2 separate regions of the Homo sapiens genome follow, and region 2 is linked to region 1. The links are contacts of gene promoters, found by promoter capture Hi-C in human tissues and cell types (Jung and others, 2019). All regions are on one chromosome and are shown on one strand. The core of a region is centred on a gene start or on the middle of the fragment in contact, and the rest is flanking DNA. Distances in the headings are between cores, read along the strand shown. Region 1 holds the start of SLC13A2 (solute carrier family 13 member 2). Region 2 has its middle 29 kb from the start of SLC46A1.

The links. Contacts are between HindIII fragments. The study calls those that stand out against the background at their distance.
Region 2: a contact is called between a fragment that was not itself captured here and the fragment with the promoter of SLC13A2 in region 1, in 3 of the 25 tissues and cell types used here (IMR-90 fibroblasts, dorsolateral prefrontal cortex and stomach).

What each region holds. Positions count from the first base shown.
Region 1 is chr17:28,470,260-28,476,614 of GRCh38, forward strand. SLC13A2 (solute carrier family 13 member 2) reads left to right here and starts at 3,385. Exons shown (of 12, transcript NM_003984.4): 1 at 3,385-3,555. The coding sequence starts at 3,454. The HindIII fragment of the contact is 27,138 bases long and covers 1-6,355 here.
Region 2 is chr17:28,432,445-28,438,043 of GRCh38, forward strand. No RefSeq gene overlaps it. Among named protein-coding and RNA genes, the nearest start is that of SLC46A1, 29 kb to the left of the region's middle. The HindIII fragment of the contact is 3,392 bases long and covers 534-3,925 here.

The DNA.
Region 1 (6,355 bases), core at 2,135-4,634:
CAGCCTGGGCGACAGAGCAAGACTCTGTCTCAAAACAAAACAAAACAAAACAAACAAACAAAAAATTTGTGGACCCAGTTGGAGAGGCAATGGAAGATGAGGGGAGTGGTCAGAGCACCTGGAGTCGGATTTGGGGTCTGGGATTCTCAGAGCTGTAAACACGATGCCCAACCCCCGAGTCCACCGTTCCCCAGGGCATGCCAGCCACCCAGGAGGGGCACTTCTTTTCGAGGGAGGGTGGTCTTCTTGAAAACAGCCCAGGTGCCTCCCTAGCCCCCCTATCCTGTGATCCTGTCTGTCCTTGAGAACATCCCTTCTTCTTCAATCAAGGATTTGATGACTGTCCCTGCCCACACCCTATCTTCTCTCCTCTAGGCTGGGCAGTCTCAGGTCTTAGAAATCATTCCTGATGCTCCCTAATATGTCCAGCCATCCTGGCTTTCTAGGATCCCTGGAGTTGTGCCCCTGTGGGCCCCAGGCCCAGCCTGCACAATGCTGGGTTGCCTCAACGGCCCCTGTCTTAAGGCCTGCCTCACATGTTCAGATATAAACTTCCTAAAAGCCACCTTTGTGACCCAGCCCCAGCTCTATCTCCAGCTTATCAGCCACCTGCTTCTGAGGACAAGCTGGCTCTTGCAAGCCAGAGACCATTTCCTCTCCCCCAAGGACTTGCAGCCAATCTCCGATAGCCCTGTCCAGGAGAGGCAATGGACAAAGTGCAGGGTAGGTGTTTCCTGGTAGTGACTCCTTCCTGAGATAGTACAGAGACCCATCACAGGGAAGGCCCCAGCAAAGACTGAAGAAGCCAGCCAGGCAACTACCGTATGTTACTCACAGTTCATTAGGAGCCATGCAAAAAACCACAGTTATCTGCTGCATTAATTAAAGGAGAAGGGGGTGGGGCAAAAGGGAATATTGAATAAGACCTGGCAGAGTGGGGCCCTGGCCATGACTCCCAGGCAAAGGGGAAGTTTTTGTAATGAATATGACAGCTGGAGTCTTCCCGCTGGCCTTGGGAATTCATCACTGCTTTGAGATGAATTCATCACTGATGGGGCCTGGCTGCTGGTGATGCAATAGCCCCCCAGTGCTGGGCCTCAAAAAAGAATCAAAGAAGGTCCCAAAAGCCTATGTCTTAGAAGAGGGCTGTAGGGGGAAGCCAGAGGGTCTCAGTAAAACATTGAGTTTTGTCCCAGCTCCATCAAAGGAGACCAGAGAATGGAGGGCTGAGCCAAGGGCACAGCCTTCCTGGAAACAAATCTGCATTCTCTCTGTTACTCACAAGGTGTGTGACTCTAGACGAGTAACCTCACTGCCCTGAGCCTACATCACAGAATTGGTATGGAGAGTTAGGTAAACTGGGATGCAGATTTTACACATGGTGAAGCTGGGCCTGGTTTTTTTTTTTTTTTTTTTTTTTGTGGCTCCTTAAAAGCCTCAGGCCATGGGAGAGGCTTCCACCAAGGTGAGATAGAATCGGGGCATTGTCCTGAGTGTCTGAAACCCTTTGTCTCTCCCTGTCCTTCCTGGCTCTTGCTTACTTTGCCCTGGGCAGGTGGCAGGCCACTGTGTGGGAGTGAAGGAGCCATGCCTGAAGGGGGGCTGGGGTGGCTAGCCTGTACTCTGTTACTGTAGCATCCCACCAGCCTGGCCTCGCTCCAGGAGCCCTCGAACTGGATCCCTCTGACCTCTAGGACCGCCCTGCAGAAAGCACCAGGGGCCTTTCTCTAAAAGATCCACTGGCTCCAGGAGTGTCTCGGTGGCATAACAGCCCAGGCCATGCTATGGTACACCTAAAACTATAGTTATCAGCTCTTAATCCTGTCCCCCGCAAATCCACATTCCAACCACGCAGAACCTTCTGTTCTCTAAACGTCCCCACGCTTCTGCATCTCTTCCCAGACTGTCTTCGCTGCCTGAAACATTCTCCCTGATACCCCGCCTCCTTATCCTAGCACACACGGATCATCATACTCTGATAACCTCAGAAACATGCATTGACCTTCAACTGCGTGCAGTCAGGGTGAGGAGGGGTGAGGGCGCCAGGAGACTGAGGGTCTGGCCAGAGATAAGACCCACAATTTCTTCCAAACTACAACTTGCTCCGTTCAACATACATACACACACACACGCATGCACTTGCCACCCTCCAGGCCTTCGTTCACTCTTCCCTCTCCTTGTGCCCCTTCCCCTATCACCTCGTGCCAAGTAAGACTGAGCTCTCAAGCCTTCGCTCAGATGCCATCTCTTCCAGGAGCCCTTGCCTGGTGCCTTTCACCCAGAGCTTCTGCCCTGGTTTGGACCTCCCTCAGGATACCCATAATGCATGTGTGAATTCTGGCTGGCTCCATGTCCTTTGGCCTCAGTTCCCCCATCTGTTAAATGGAATAGTAACACCTAACCCATGGTGTAGTTACCGAGTTGATGAAGTACAGTAACTGACTTGTACTAAGTGCTGAGCAAATGTCAGTCTTTACCACCAGCAGCAGCAGCAGCATTTTAATCTCTGTATCTTTAGCACTGAGCACAGGGCTGAATACATAATTGGTACTAAATACTTGCTTGGTGGAGGGATGGATGGATGGATGGTTGGATGGATGGATGGATGGATGGATGGATGATGGATAAATGAGAGATCTAGTATGTTTCCAAAATAAGAGACAATCTTTGCTGGGGGGCGAGGGGGCTAGGAAGAGCCTGAAAGAAACTAACCTTCATCGTACACCTGCCATGCATCAAAGCTCAACATATATAAGTTGTCTAATTTGAGCCTCACAATAGCAAGATATTACTGCAGAATAAGGAAGTGGCTAATTCTGAGAGGTTAAGTCGGTGGATCAGTGTCACACAAGATGTAGTCAGGACCAGGGACTTTGATGGTCCTCGATACCTGGAAGGAGGAGGAGGAGGACTTGCTCCAGGCCTTAGCTACTGTCAATCTTAGACTGAAAATTCCTAGGGCATCTCTGTGGGCAGGGCAGGGCCACCCCACCCAGGCTGTCACATAAAGTGCTCAGCTGAGAACCTAGCTTTGGAGAACAGCAGAAAGGAAAGGCCGGGCCAGCGGAGGTGGCTTGGGGGCTGCCTGTGGAGGGTGGCTGGGGGACTCTCCTTCCTTCTCCAGCTCCTCCAGCACCACCCTCAGCAGCCTCCAAGAACAGAAGGAGTTAACGCTGGGATTAACTTCTTGAAGGAACCTGAAGTTTTTTAATCCTTGTTCTTTCCTCCTTCCTTCTCCCTCTCCCTTCCTGATCTTTACTCCGCCTGTGGGTCCCTCCTCCTTACTCTCACCTCCCCAACTCCAAAAACACTCTGATTGCCAGACTGGGTCAATGGTTAACACTCAACTGGCTTTATATAAGCCTGCCACCTGCCTGCTTGGCTGCATCTTTGGTCCTTCTGTTACCCAGCTCCTGGAGGCAGTGGCTGTAGCAGCCCTTGCTGCTCCACACCATGGCCACCTGCTGGCAGGCCCTGTGGGCCTATCGCTCCTACCTGATCGTGTTCTTCGTGCCCATTCTCCTGCTGCCTCTGCCCATCCTCGTCCCCAGTAAGGTAAGGACTTGGTGTTCTGAGCACAGATAACTCCAGGGGGCAGAGGAGGGACTGTCTGGGCCGGGGTTGGGCATCCTTAGGATCCAGCATAACTTCCTCACTGCCCCTGCCCTGGAAGTGAGGCTATCGCCCCCTGCTCCTCCTGAGGACTGAGGGCTAGGAGGTCAAAGGGGCTTTTGCTTGGCACCCAGTTGTAGGAGCCCAGCGTGAATTACTTAGGTGGGTTTGCAACCTACTGCCCTAGGAAACAGGAAACCAGTTCCATCAACAAGATGCAAGGGGGGCAGATGGAGCTGATCTACCTACTGTGTGCCCACCTAGCCCTGGACTGGGCTCCATGGCGGCTGAGATGGGCTGGCTGTGGGGAGGGGACGGCTGGGTAAGCAGCAGCAGAGTGAAGAGGGTTGGAAGGAGAATAGGAGAAAGCTGGCTGCAGGCGGTCTGCATCTTTAAGAGCATAAACAGGAAGAGAAAGAGTTCACCTGTGGATTCAAGGGCTAAGTCTGTGGAGGAGGAGGGGTGGGAGTTGGAAGAGGGGACCGCTGCAGGTAGACAGCACAAAAACTGTGCCCTGGATGGAGGGGGAGCTGGGCACAACCAGGCGTCACTGCCTCCTCCTCCGCCCCCAGCAGAAGTCATAACTTCATCTCTCATTAAATCAAGCCGCCAATGCCTGCCCTGCCCTAGGCACCCAGTAACCTTTTCCACCATCTTAAGAGGTCAGGCCTGACTGTCCCATTTGACAAATGGGGAAGGTGAGGTTAAGTCACTTAGTCAAAGTCCCAGGGCAGATCCAAGTTTCATGGAACTTGGATATTATACACTTTTGGGCCCCACTCTGTAAGAAAAAGGACACAAAAGTATTAATCTGAAATTAGTTTGGGGCTTTGGGAAGGGTCCAGGGGGAAGGCCTTGAAGTTCAATCTTCAGTCAGTCGGCCTCTGGCAAATCACACAGCTGGGAGGTTCAGAGCTGGGGGTGTGATCTGGTGCCAAAGCATGTCTTCTCTCCACCCTGCTGCCTCCTGCCCCACCCCACACCCCCAGAACTGCCCATCAAGCCATTTTCTTCCTTTTGTCATAGATAGAGAAATTGAGTCAGACTTTTTTGTTCATGGTATCCCAAAGGGGTGAGAGACTGGGGGTGATAGTGGCACAGCCCCTGGGCCCCTGACACCTGGTCAGTAACAAGGCCCAGCTGACCTTTGAGATGACCTTCATCTCAGGCCAAAGCCGGTGGCATCTCAGTGCTAGGGACCCATCAGATGGGTTTTCCGACAGGCTGGGGCAAGTGTGTTAACCCCAGGAGGGAAGCCAGACAGGGATTTTGATTTCTTCCCAATTCCCCTCGACCTGGGGAAGCACAGCACAGAAAGATTCAGTAACTTGCCCAGGTCACACAGGAAATCCTGAGTCAGTGCTAGAAGCCATGCCTGTTGGTGAGACTGGGATGTGTTAGGAGCCCCTGTCTTCTGTGCACCGTATCTGGCCCTGCTACCTGCCTCTGGCTCACAGATGCTGCCAGCCCCATCCTGACTCTGGTCCTGTCTAGGAGAGGCCAGCCCCTCTCAAGGACTTTGCTCCTGCAATTGTCCTCTCACTCTCCTACAAGATAAATATTTCCTCTCTGCCTGATCTCCCCCATCCACATACGGAGGTGCTGTAATATCTCTCATCTTAAACAAACAAGAGCTCTCTTTCAAGGCCACGCTCCTTCCAGGATAGTGCCTCTTTCTCTGCTCTCTCTCATAACAGGAAGTCTCAAGACACTGTCTACACCACAAGCGCACTTTCTCTTTTGTCAGCTCCCATCTCCAAGACTCAGATCCCATCAACTTCCTTGTGACCAAACCCTGGGCCACCCTCACATTCCTCAGTCCCTCGGCAGCATTTGTCACAGCTGTCACCCCGTCTTTGCCGTGCTGTCTTCTCTTGGCTTTGGTGACACCTTCTCCTGGTTCCTGCCCAGCCCTGCCCCTTCCCACCTTTCCTGACTCTGAGGTTCCTTCTCCATCTGACTCTGAGGTTTTCCAGGGTCCCCACTTCCCCTAGCTGATCTTATGCCATCTCGTGCTTTAAAAAGCATCTCTATGCCAATGAGTTATCAATCTGTAACCCCAGCCCTAAACTCTAAACTGGTATTATCCAATGAACACCAGCCATCTCCCTAATTGAATATTTTCTTTGTAAGCAGGATAAGCAGGTTACACTTTTCCACGTCCAAACCAAAACCCTTCCTGCCCTTCTCCAGTTGGCTTAGGCATCAAGAAATGCTTCAACCATCTACCTTGCTGCAACAGCCAAAAACTCGGGGGCATTCTTGATTCTTCTCCTTCCCTCCTTTCCACGTGCAGCAGAAGGTCCTGCTCATTTGATACCCCAAAATACTCTGAATGGAGTCACTCCCCGCCCTCGGATCCACTGTCTCCCCGGTCATTTCCCATGTGTCCCACTCTGCTCAAAACCCTACATTGGCCAGGCGCAGTGGCTCACACCTATAATCCCAGCACTTTGTGAGGACGAGGCGGGAGAATTGCTTGAGCCCAGGAGTTTGAGACCAGCCTGGGCAACATAATGAGACCCCACCTTAATTTGAAAAAACAAACAAACAAAAAAACCCTACACTGGCTTCCTGTCAAACTTAGGATAAAACCTCTTCAAGCAGCCAGAAGTCACCAAGGCTCAGCCCTGGACTCCCCAGGCTCCCTCCCCCTGTGACCCACCTCTCGCTCACTCTCCCCCACCCTCACCAGCTTTCTTTCTGCTCCTCACATTGCTCTGGACTGCTCTCCCAGATACCT
Region 2 (5,599 bases), core at 980-3,479, 39 kb before region 1:
AAGTCTAACATAGGTCTACTCTGAATTCTAGGAGGAGCGTCTAGAGTAGACCTTTTAAAAAAATGTTTAGAGACAGAGTGTTGCTATGTTGCCCATGCCCAGCTCTTTGCAGAGGTATTGGCTGAGTCGTTTCCAGAATTCATGAAAGACGCAAATCATTCAATTCATAGGTCCATGTAGGATAATAAGTGATCCTGGAAAAAAGGTTTGGGATGAAAGAAGGAGTTGTGTGCCAATGAATTGATAAGCAAGTAGGTATATCAAACATTAACTGCACAAAAGATAAATAATAATGTTTAACTTGAGGGAAGCTATGAAAAATAACTAGATAGAAATAAGATAATGGACTATATGAGACAAAAGGGGATGATTGGTATGAGGAGAATGGTAGAGAACTTGAATAATTTTAGATTTTAGATAAAGTATGCATGTCAAATGATTAATATTCTAAAAGAGGGGAAATAGAGTTTATAACCTCCAAACCAAAGAGGGAGAGGAAGAATTAAATTTGAAAAGTAAGATATTTCCAAGTTAAGATGCAAAATCAACTAATCTTCCAAGTTAAGGTGCACACACAACTAATCTATCTCACTTCCAACCAAAAGCCCCAATTTAAAGTGGTATATATAATATATATATAGTATATTATTATTATACAATATATATTATATTATTATACAATATATTATATGGTATATATGTATATATAATGTATATATAATATAATATATATATATATATATAATATGTATGTATATATTTGAGACTGAGTCTCACTCTATTTCCCAGGCTGAAGTGCAGTGGTACAATCTCAGCTCACTGCAACCTCCACCACCTGGGCTCAAGCAATTCTCCTGCCTCAGCCTCCCGAGTATCTGGGACTACAGGTGCCCACCACCACACCTGGCTAATTTTTGTGTTTTTAGTAGAGACGGGATTTCTCCATGTTGGCCAGGCTGGACTCGAACTCCTGACCTCAAGTCTTGCCTGCCTCGGCCTCCCAAAGTGCTGGGATTACAGGCATGAGCCACCGCGCCTGGTCTCAATATATATTTTTAAATATTTATTTTTAAAAAATTAATGGAAGGGAGAAGAGTTGGGGAAGGGAAGACAACAACAGTAACAGTTTGGAAGACATGAACATATGGGCCAAATGACTTAACAACATAGAGAAGAATTCTGAGACAGCAGTGGGCCACCAACCACATTCTCACCATAGAATCCTCAAAATACTTAGTAATTGGAAACTACAGGCAACTCTAAAATTGGAGAGGGTATGAGAGAGGAATTTAAAATAAGGAGGATTAGGTAAAAGCTGAGAAGTAGTTAGATGCCAAATCCCCTCCAGTATTCCACACCATGGCAGTACTGCCTCTCCTAACCCTAGCAGATGACTGGGGGATTATTCTTGAAAGAAGGAACAACAGAAGGTCTCTGCCTGGAGGGAGGCTGATGAGCACAGCTGAAGACACGCTGCAAGTTGGGATTATGTGACTGTAGACATACTGAAAGCTAAGACTTCCCCTAACCCTTTTCTGCCACTGGGCTCCCAGAATGCTAAAGTGAAACCTATATCCTTTAATTGGAAGATTAGAAGAGTCTTTTCTGAGGAATATGAACAGTCACAGAAAAAAGACCCAAAGATACAGAAACTTTGGGTTTCCAAACAAATGACCAATCCAGGTCACCACAGTGAAACTCACTGTGACTTCATGGACTCAGAGTATCTAATTTTTCCCCAATTCTTTTTTTTTTTTTTTTTTGAGATGGAGTTTTGCTCTTATTGCCCAGGCTGGAGTGCAATGGTACGATCTCAGCTCACCGCAACCTCCACCTCCCAGTTTCAAGCAGTTCTCCTGCCTCAGCCTCCTGAGTAGTTGGGATTACAGGCATGTGCCACCACGCCCGGCTAATTTTGTATTTTTAGTAGTGACAGGGTTTCTCCACGTTGGTCAGGCTGGTCTCGAACTCCCAACCTCAGGTGATCTGCCTGCCTTGGCCTCCCAAAGTGCTGGGATTACAGGCGTGAGCCGCTGCACCCGGCCACTCTCCCCACTCTTAATCATAACAAAATGACCATGGATTATGAGATAAGCCTGGACCTGAGATAAGCCTCTAACATTGTAGGGAGGGACTAAAGCAAACAGGAAAAGCACTCAGAAGAAATAGAAACTATACAAGAAAAAAACCTCCAAATTTCCAAACAACCCTGTTATTAGGCACAGTGGTACACACCTGTAGTTCCAGCTACTCGTGAGGGCTGAAGTGAGAGGATCCCTTGAGCCCAGGAGTTCGAGACCAGCCTGGGCAACATAGCAAGACCCTATCTCAGCAAAACAAAACAAAAAACCTGTTTTTAATGTCATTAGAGAGATAAGAGAAAATATTACATCTATGAAACAAGAACAGGATGCTATTAAAAAAAGCATTAAAATAATAAAAAAAAGTGGTAGTAGAAATGCAAAACTCGAGAGAAAGTTGAGGAAATCCCTAAAATACTAAAGCAAAAAGAAAAGATGGGAAAAAGAGAGAGACAGCCCAGGAAGCCCAGAATCCAAATAATCCAAAAAGAGAGAAAATAAAAATTAAAGGGAAGAACACATCAATGAAATTATTCAAGAAAATGTCTCAGAATTGGAGGATGTAGATTGACAGAACCCACAGAATGTTCAGCATAATTGTTAAAATAGACCCACTCCAGTGCATATTATTGTCACATTGTAGGGTCTTCAAGACAAAGAGATAACCTTCAAGTTTCCCAAATGAAAACAAAAAAGCTTTCACAAGAAGATCAGGAACCAGAATGACTTTAGAATTCCCAGAAGAGATACTTGAAGCAGAAAGGCAATGAAGCAATAACTTCAAAATTCTGAAGAAAAATTATTTCCAACCTCGAATTCATTTTTGGTTTGTTTGTTTGTTTGTTTGAGACAGAGTTTTGCTCTTGTTGTCCAGGCTGGAGTGCAATGGTGTGACCTTGGCTCACCGCAACCTCTGCCTCCTGGGTTCAAGGGATTCTCCTACCTCAGCCTCCCGAGTAGCTGGAATTACTGGCACCCACCATCATGCCTGGCTAATTTTTTTTTTTTTTGGTACTTGTGTAGAAAAGGGGTTTCACCATGTTGCCCAGGCTGGTCTACAATTCCTGACCTCAGGTGATCCACCTGCCTCCGCCTCCCAAAGTGCTGGGATTACAGGCATGAGCCACCACACCCGGCCACATTCATATTTTATTCATCAATTTTGGACTTCAGCTATCAACTTCGTATTAGAGTATAATTTGAATACAATATAACTATACTGGAAAGATTTAGCTCTCTTAAATCAAATAAGATTATATTATAATTTTAAATTAAATCAAGATTCAGTGTTTACATTAGAATGTTCATGCAAATATTCATAGTTGGGTAATGTATATGATGATTATGATTCCTTTCTTAGTTTTGGCTTTTTCCTAAAGTTAATAATTGCCTAGTGTTTTCATTAGCTTGGTTTCCTTTGTATGTATCACTAACCCTTCTCACACCATCTAAGAGCCTCTTGAGAGCCAGGCCCGGCAGCTTGAACCTGTAATCCCAGCTACTCAGGAGGCTGAGCTGGGAGAATAGCTTGAGCTAAGGAGTTTGAGACTACCCTGGGCAACAAAGTGAGACCCTGTCTCTAAAATAAAAATGAACAAATAAAACATTTTTTAAAAGCCTCTTGGTACAATTTTCCAAAAGTTTAGTCACATCAGGTGATCCATCACTTCCATATCATTTCTTGGAGAGCTTTATTTTCCTCCATCAAGGAGACCTTGAATCTTCTTCAATCTAGGCTAGTTGATCTCTGGACATGCTGCACTGCTAGGGTCTTCCCTTGTTATCGCCTTGTAATACTCTTTCCCTTTTTCCTGAGTTGGGTTTCATGCCTTCCTCCTTGACTTACTTCTTCTTTTTTTTTTTTTTTTTTTTTTTTTTTTGAGACAGAGTCTCACTCTGTTGCCCAGGCTGGAGTGCAGTGGCAGATCTCAACTCACTGCAACCTCCACCTCCTGGGCTCAAGTGATTCTCCTGCCTCAGCCTCCAGAGTAGCTGGGACTACAGGTGTGCGCTACCACACCCCGCTAATTTTTGTATTTTTAGTAGAGACGGGGTTTCACCATGTTGGCCAGGATGGTCTCCATCTCTCGACCTCGTGATCCACCCATCTCGTCCTCCCAAAGTGCTGGGATTACAGGCGTGAGCCACCGCGCCCGGCCGATTTACTTCCTTTTTGTGGGTCACATTCACTAGCAGAGGGCATGGTTATTATAACCCTCAATTACGTCCACGTGCCTCATGAGTCACACTGCTCCAACGTGAACAAGCTGTCCTCTCTGGAGCACAAGCGTCATCTTAGGATCTGCCTTTGTCATCATTCTGGAAATTCCCATACCTTCCCTTCTGTGTCGTATCTCTTATTTCATGCATCTACTTGCTGTTTCCTAATTTATACTCTCATTTTGGTAGAGGACAACTTCTAATAGCTTGTCGAGAAAGGGTGTATGAAGTAACTTCTGAGATATTGCATATCTGAAACTGTCTGATTCTACCTTCACACTGAAGCAATAGCTTGTTTGGTTAAAGAATTCGAGGTTGGAGGCCGAGCGTGGGTGGTTCGCGCCTGTAATCCCAGCACTTTGGGAGGCCGAGGTGGGCAGATCACCTGAAGTCAGGAGTTCCATACAAGCCTGACCAACATGTAGAAACTCCGTCTCTACTAAAAATACAAAATTAGCTGGGCGTGGTGGCACATGCCTGTGATCCCAGCTACTCGGGAGGTCGAGTCAGGAGAATTGCTTGAACCTCGGAAGCAAAGGTTGCAGTGAGCCGGAATCGCGCCATTGCACTCCAGCCTGGGCAACAAGAGTGAAACTCCGTCTCAAAATATATATATATATATACACACACACACATATATACTATTTAGAAACAAAGATAATATAAATATAAATGTCAAAATAAATGGTGGAAAGAGTTGGAAATGGCTGATGTTGAGGAAGGTGACTAAGGGAGTGAAGAGGGGTGGACAGGAAACTACCATTTTTTTAAGCTTCTCAGAATATTTGGGTATTTAAATGTCTATGATGTAAACACACCTTCAGCTTGAACTTGAAGGACAGAAAAATATATAACAAGCAAACACAACTACAAGGACAAACTGACAAGGATACTTGACACAGATTAACTTCCATCCTTATACGAGACTTTAGCACACATTTATCAGTAAGTTATAGATCAAGCAAATATAAAATTCACAAAAAAATGAAAAATGTGAGCAACTTAAATTTGATTTAATATACATTATATCTAGAACACTATAAAAAATTCAAGAGTACATATTTTTCTTAAGTATATATGGATTTTTTTTTCTTTTTTTTTTTGAGACAGAGTCTCACTCTGTCACCCAGGCTGGAGTGCAATGGCACGATCTCGGCTTTGGCTCACTGCAAGTTCCGCCTTCCAGGTTCACGCCGTTCTCCTGCCTCAGCCTCCCAAGTAGCTGGGACTACAGGTGCCCGCCACCAAGCCCGGCTAATTTTTTGTATTTTTAGTAGAGACAGGGTTTCACCGTGTTA